Linked DNA regions of Homo sapiens: region 2 is linked to region 1. Evidence: promoter capture Hi-C in 16 types of primary human blood cells and fetal thymus (Javierre and others, 2016). All regions are on one chromosome and are shown on one strand. Each heading gives the region's core, a stretch centred on a gene start or on the middle of the fragment in contact. The rest is flanking DNA. Distances are from core to core; before and after follow the strand shown. Region 1 holds the start of ATP5IF1 (ATP synthase inhibitory factor subunit 1). Region 2 holds the start of PHACTR4 (phosphatase and actin regulator 4).

Region 1 (3,291 bases), core at 307-2,806:
TGTCTTGTTCACATTCATTAGATGGATGAAGGGAGGTTAAGGTCAAGCTTTCCCTAGACTCCTACTTATCCTTTTTTTTTTTTTTTTTTTTTTTTTTTGAGACAGAGTTTCGCTCTTGTTACCCAGGCCGCAGTGCAATGGCGTGATCTCAGCTCACCGCAACCTCAGCCTCCCGGGTTCAAGCATTCTCCTGCCTCAGCCTCCCAAGTAGCTGGGATTACAGGCATGTGCCACCACGCCTAGCTAATTTATTTTTTATTTTTATTTATTTATTTTTGAGACAGTTTCTCTCTTGTTGACCAGGCTGGAGTGCAATGGCGTGATCTCAGCTCACTGCACCCCCTGCCTCTCAGGTTCAAGCGATTCTCCTGCCTCAGCCTCCCGAGTAGCTGGGATTACAGATATGCGCCACCATGCCCAGCTAATTTTTCATATTTTTTTTTTAGTAGAGATGGGGTTTCTCCATGTTGGTCAAGCTGGTCTCGAATTCCCAACCTCAGGTGATCTGCCCGCCTCGGCCTCCCAAAGTGCTGGGATTACAGGTGTGAGCCACCGCGCCTGGCCTGCTCTTTTCTACTGCATTGCACCACATTGCCAAAAGTGCAGTTATTAAGCCCATTCAACAATATGTTGCTAACGAAAAAAACAAACTAAAATATTTTTAAAAGGTTTATTCTGAGCCAAGATGAGTGACCATAGCTTGGGGAAACACAGCCTCAAGAGGTCCTAGGAAACTGTGCCTGAGGTGGTCAAGTTATAATTTGGGTTTTCTTTTTTTTTTTTTTGTTTTGAGACGGAGTCTCGCTTTGTCACCAGGCTGGAGTGCAGTTGCGCAATCTCGGCTCACTGCAACCTCCGCCTCCCGGGTTCAAGCCAATTCTCCTGTCTCAGCCTCCTGAGTAGCTGCGATTACAGTCGCGTGCCACCGCACCCGGCTGATTTTTGTATTTTTAGTAGAGACGGGGTTTCCCCATGTTGGCCAGGCTGGTCTCGAACTCCGGACCTCAGGTGATCCACCCACTTCGGCCTCCCAAAGTGTTGGGATTACAGGCGTGAGCCACCGCGCCCAGCCAGAACACTGACACTTCTCATAACAAATGAACGCGATTTATGTATATCTAAGCCAGGGCACATTGGACGTCGGTATCCTGGACATCAGCATCCTGGACACAGCTCCCAAACCCCGAATTCCCCCATTTTATTGATGCTAGCAGGCCAGGGAAGGGAAAACTTCCTTTGGGCTTTGAATAATAACGACTTTAGAATTGAAATCGTGGGCTGGAGGTGGACGCCACGCCTCATTCTGATGGGTCCAAGAGCCGAAATTTCGGCTTCTGGCACTCTCCTCACTCAGCTCTCTAAACTCCTCCATCATTCCTCTTTCCAGTCCTTTGGCCCTAAGCCCTTGCTAGCGGTTGGCTAAGAAGAAACCCGTCTCTTGCTCGGGATTCGCTGTGAGCTCCGGGAAGCCCGCCTCCGCTCTCCCGTGATTCGCTACTCCTGTGTTCATCCGCCCCTCCGTCGACCAGATTGGGTGCTTGGCCGTCCCTGCCATTAGCGCGTAACGAGAGACTGCTTGCTGCGGCAGAGACGCCAGAGGTGCAGCTCCAGCAGCAATGGCAGTGACGGCGTTGGCGGCGCGGACGTGGCTTGGCGTGTGGGGCGTGAGGACCATGCAAGCCCGAGGCTTCGGCTCGGATCAGGTACGCTGCGGCAGTGTCCGCTGCTCCAGCCCCGCGGGCGGATCCCATCTTTGCTTCCGTACCTTTACCAGTGTCCCTGTCTCTCTGCAGTCCGAGAATGTCGACCGGGGCGCGGGCTCCATCCGGGAAGCCGGTGGGGCCTTCGGAAAGAGAGAGCAGGCTGAAGAGGAACGATATTTCCGGTGAGGCTCACCGGGTCCCAAGTCCAGCCCTGGATCTCCCAATGGCCTTCCAATCCTTAAACTGCCAATCGCCCCACCCGTTCCTACCTGGTGCCTTGGGCGCCCCATCCCCCAACAGAACTCCCGGGCCCCAATCCAGTATACCCTAACCCTTGATGTCCCGACCGTTGCCACGTATAGGGCACTCCCAGTTACCTGCACAACAGTTTCAGGCCCCCAAACCGTTTCCACCGGCGGGTCTCCAAAACAACCCACGGCTCAACTCCTCCTTTATCATTACCATCTCCCGCGTGGAGTTCTCCTCAGGTCGTGCGAAACACCCCCAGATTCTTCGCACAGTGTCTAGATCCGACCGCCCAACGTTTGCCTCCCAGCCTGACTCCCTCGGCCCTTACCCACCTGTCACCCCCTCTACGCTCTCCTTCCTCGCCAGCACGCCTTAGCTTTGCAAGCCTGCATGCATTCAGGCTTCTCAGGTGTTTCTAGACCCCCGACTCCGCAAGAGTGAGGATGATGGGAGCTGGTCATGGGAGCTACTTATGGTTGGACACCATCTTCTAAAGGCTTTTGCCCTACTCAGCCCAACCTAGACCTGTAGATTTCCCTCTCCTGCTTAGGAGTATGGAGTGGGCTGGGCCTCCCTTTGCCAGCCTTGAGTTATCTTTAACTGACTTCTGTCCACTCTGGAGAGCAGTGAGGAATTAATCTTGCTTTTGCTTGTCCTTTGGCCTTTCACTTCTGCCTTCTGTTGAGAATTATCACCATGACACCTGCCATACCGTATAGAGAGCCAAGGTACAGCCGTTAGAGACTATCTAATTGAGCCCCTACATTTTGTAGTTAAGGAAAACTGAGGCCTAAATGTGACCAAACCAACATTGTAATCCAGTCCCTTCTTGGAACCTAAATTGAACTGCCAAGTACTGCGCATGCAAGAGACCCTTTATTGGCCTTACAGTGGGCCATTCATTTCTATAGGCAAAGAAAGCTCTAGACAGATTGGAATAGGAAATGGATATTTGCCTTTTAGCTACACCCCTTTGTCTGTCTTCCTCATTTTGTTCCTTTTTTTTTCCCTAAAGGGGAGTCAAGTTCCCTGGGTTGTTCCCCTCATAAGGTATTAGGGACTTGTGTCACATCTCTCTGGAGTTTTCTATTTTAAAGAGGAATCTGAAAGCAATAAGCTCTTTGGTCTTCTTAAGATGGCTACACCTCAATTTAAGATGGGGTATTCTTTCACTAGTTGAGGAGTAGAAGAGGATGACCAGCTAGACTCCCATGGAATTGGAACTCCTATTCCTTGCTTAGACATTACAGGTTATGCTTTGAGATCTCTTTGGGGTGAAGGATTGAAATTAAACCCTGAGCCACCGTGTCCTTGTAGAGCACAGAGTAGAGAACAACTG
Region 2 (3,554 bases), core at 117-2,616, 130 kb after region 1:
AAATAATCCTCCTATTTCAGCCTCCTGAGTACCTGGGACTACAGGCACGTTCCATCATGCCCAGCTAATTTTTAAAATTGTTTTTGTAGAGATGGGGCCTCACTCTGTTGCCCAGGCTGGCAGGCTGGTCTCAAACTCCAGGGCTCAAGGGATCCTCCCGCCTTAGCCTCCCAAAGTGCTGGGATGAGAGGTGTGAGCCACTGCACCCGGCCAATTTTTTTTTCTTCTTTTTTCTTTTTCTATTGAGACAGGGTCTTGCTCTGCTGCCCAGGCTGGAGTGCACTGGTGCGATCTCGACCCCCCAGGCTCAAGTGATCATCTCACCTCAGCCTCCCACGTAGCTGGGACTACAGGAGCTTGGCACTAGGCCCCGGATAATTTGTTTGTTTGTTTGTTTGTTTGTTTTGCGACGGAGTCTTGCTCTGTCGCCCAGGCTGGACTGCAATGGCAAGATCTCGGCTCACTGCAACCTCCGCCTCCTGGGTTCAAGCGATTCTCCTGCCTCAGCCTCCTGAGTAGCTGGGATTACAGGCATGCGCCACCGCGCCTGGCCAATTTTTTTAATTTTATGGATAGTGTATTTGAAAAGTCACATCGATTTTTCTCCTGGAATGTCCTCTAGATGTGCCGTAGCTTCAAGTTTTACATGTAGGTCTAATTTAGGTTGTGTGATACAATGGGTTTGCATTTAGAAGGGTCCTCTGGCAGCAGCAAGGAAGGTTTTCGGAGGGTGATAGCCTAGGGCCTGAAACTACTGAGACTTGGAGAGAAGTGATGGTGGCTTTCACTAGGTGATAGTAGTGAAGGATATCGAAATGAATTAAAATACTGGGGATGTAGAATGACTGGACTTAATGGCTTGAGGGAAGTGTCCAGAATGATTCCTGGGTTTCTTACGCACAACACTGAGGGTAGATAACTTGCTTGTACGTTTTTTGCACTTCAAATTGGTCCTCAATAAATAGTTTTTCCTTTGGGGAGGTTATGATTGAAATTTGGCCAGTCAGGGATACAGTTTTCTCAAACAACACTCTTGTATCAGTTCCCTTTTTGGGTACTGCCTGGAGCCCAGTATTGAACCCTGTCCTCCCAAGCCCAAAGACCTTTGCCTCCCATAGTACCAGGAAAGGTGCCCAAGTTCTTTTACACACAAGGTGCGCAGAGCGGCCAGCGCATGCCCAGAGAGGTCGTAAGGAGGACGACCGCCCGGAGAGAAAGGACGCACGCTTCCCGCCATTTTGTTCAGCTTGCCGGGCAACCGGCCCCTGCTGGGGACTACAAGTCCCGTAAGCCTCCGCGGCGGCACGTCCTACCCTACACTGTCCAGCCGGCTCCCTTTTTCCCCCTCCCCGGGGGCCAAGGGCTCCGGCTGCTGCCTGGCGGCCAACGGGCCAGGTAGGATTTCCGGGAGAGGCTGCTGTGGAGGCTGAGGAGGCGGCGGCGGAGATCTGGGTAAGTTCAGCGAGCAAGGGAAAGTGAGCAGGACGCGCTCAGTATCAGGCTGCGGCCTCCTCTCAGGCTGCGGCCCCTTTCTTGGCTCTGCGAGAGGGTCCCGGTCCGGGCAGAAGGTAACGGCCCGGGTCGCCGTCGCTTCGGGCCAGGGCGGGGCGGGGCCGCCGCCTCCCTCCTCGGCCCTCCCACAACGGTCCAACCCGGGCTTCTCCGCCTGAGGCAGGGCCCGCGCAGGCTCGCCCTCTCCGCCCCCCGAGACTTGGCTGGGCCCTTTTGTCTGGGCTGCGTTGCTCCCCCTTTGTGTCCGTGCATGGAGTCTCCGCCACGGGGGAGCCTGTTCCCCCGGTCCCCAACAGGGACTGCTCCCTGGGGATCCGGTTACAGTAACCGGATCGGGTCAAAGTACATTTTTCAAAACCGTCCTGCCTCAGACCTCTGCACCCCTGCTGGGCAGAACGGGGGCTTCGGAGCCAGGCGGAGTTTCTGTAAAAACCTGGAGGTTATTATTTAACTTTCAAACATCAGCCTGGGCGGCTTCAGGGCACGAAACTCCCGACGTTTTTCTTGGTGGAGAGATGAGATTAAGGAAAAGAAGCGACCCCTCTCTCCCACCCTCTACACCCCGGCTCCGGGAAACCGGGAAGGCATCGAATTTGCTGCGATGTCTGTGCAGCTCACATCTGTGATCGGTGGACCAAAGAACCAGTGGTGAATGGTAGAATGGCAGTTCACGCACCTCCCAAATCTCGGAGGAGAGTGACTTACAGGGCATCACTGATTGCTTGCAAAAAAAAAAAACCCTCCAGTGCTTCATTCGGACACTCAGCTCCTCGCTCCTTCCAACCTCTTCCTTTTCTTGTTCTTTTTAAAACAAACAGTGGAAGGAAAAAGTCCTTCAGTGGAAGAATTTGCTTTATAGAGGAACCAGAAACCCAGTGGCTTCTAGAAGTCACTTACTTTTTCGCCAAATTAAAGAAATGAATTTCGGGCGTGGTGGCGCGCGCCTGTAATGCCAACTATTCTGGAGGCTGAGGCAGGAGAATCGCTTGAGGCCAGAAGTTCGCGACCAGCCTGGGCAACACAGCAAGACCCCATCTTAAAAAAAAAAGGAATGAAGCCCGTTTAGAAATGAAGCCAGTTTAGGGGATGAGGTGTGGTAGATTCTTACCGGAAACCGCGGAACTGCGTGGATTGTGGATTCGATCAAATTTGGCTAGATAATGGTAACTGTGTATGTCCTCCTGTTGGAAGACTGCATTGCTAGAATCAGCTTAAGGTAAAATTTGTTTGTTTGTTTCATTTAAGAGACAAGAGTCTAGCTTGGTTGCTGAAGCTTGAGTACAGTGGAGAGCTCCTAGTTCACTGTAGCCTCGAACTTCTTGGCTTAAGCCATCCTTCCACCAGAGGCTCCCAGATGCCTGGGACTAGAGGCATGAGCCACTGTGCCCGACTATTTAATTTAATTTATTTATATTTATTTATTTATTTTGAGACAATCTCACTTTGTTACCCAGGCTGGAATGCAATGGCACGATCTTGGCTCACTGCAACCTCCACTTCCCAGGTTGAAGCGATTCTCCTGCCTCAGCCTCCTGAGTAGCTGGGATTACAGGTGTGTGCCACCATGCCCAGCTAGTTTTTGTATTTTTGGTAGAAACAAGGTTTCACCATGTTAGCCAGGCTGGCCTTGAACTCCTAACCTCAGGTGATCCACCCGCCTCGGTCTCCCAAAGTGCTGGGATTACAAGCGTGAGCCACCGTGCCTGGCCAATTTTTATGTATTTATTTTTTGAAATAGGGTCTCGCTGGGTTTCCCAGGCTGGAGTGCAGTGAGTTGAGCACTGCTCACTGCAGCCTGGACCTCCTCCTGGGCTCAAGCCTCTGCCTCCAGAGTAGCTGGGACAACAGACACAGGCCACCAGCGCAGCTAATTAAAAAAATTTTTAAAAAAATTTTTGTATTGATTGGGGTCCCACTCTGTTGCCCAGGCTGGTCTTGGACTCCTGGGCTCAAGTGATCCTCCCTCCCAAAGTGCTGGTATTAAACCTTAAGATAAAGAATACTGTATTTGTTTTTTGAGATAGAGTCTTGCTCTGTTGCTC

Evidence for each region. The method cuts DNA at HindIII sites, captures the fragments that hold promoters and counts their contacts. A CHiCAGO score of 5 or more calls a contact.
Region 2: the fragment with the promoter of PHACTR4 here is called in contact with the fragment with the promoter of ATP5IF1 in region 1 in 1 of 17 cell types (M1 macrophages); the score reaches 5.2 in M1 macrophages.

Annotation. Positions count from the first base shown.
Region 1 is chr1:28,234,568-28,237,858 of GRCh38, forward strand. It overlaps ATP5IF1 (ATP synthase inhibitory factor subunit 1), which reads left to right and starts at 1,557. Exons shown (of 3, transcript NM_016311.5): 1 at 1,557-1,703; 2 at 1,794-1,885; 3 at 3,270-3,291. The coding sequence starts at 1,617. RefSeq lists enhancers at 456-962, 1,756-1,815 and a silencer at 795-1,019. The HindIII fragment of the contact is 3,687 bases long and covers 46-3,291 here.
Region 2 is chr1:28,368,374-28,371,927 of GRCh38, forward strand. PHACTR4 (phosphatase and actin regulator 4) reads left to right here and starts at 1,367. Exons shown (of 14, transcript NM_001048183.3): 1 at 1,367-1,452. RefSeq lists enhancers at 539-1,494, 1,145-1,439 and a silencer at 1,521-1,740. The HindIII fragment of the contact is 7,867 bases long and covers 1-2,783 here.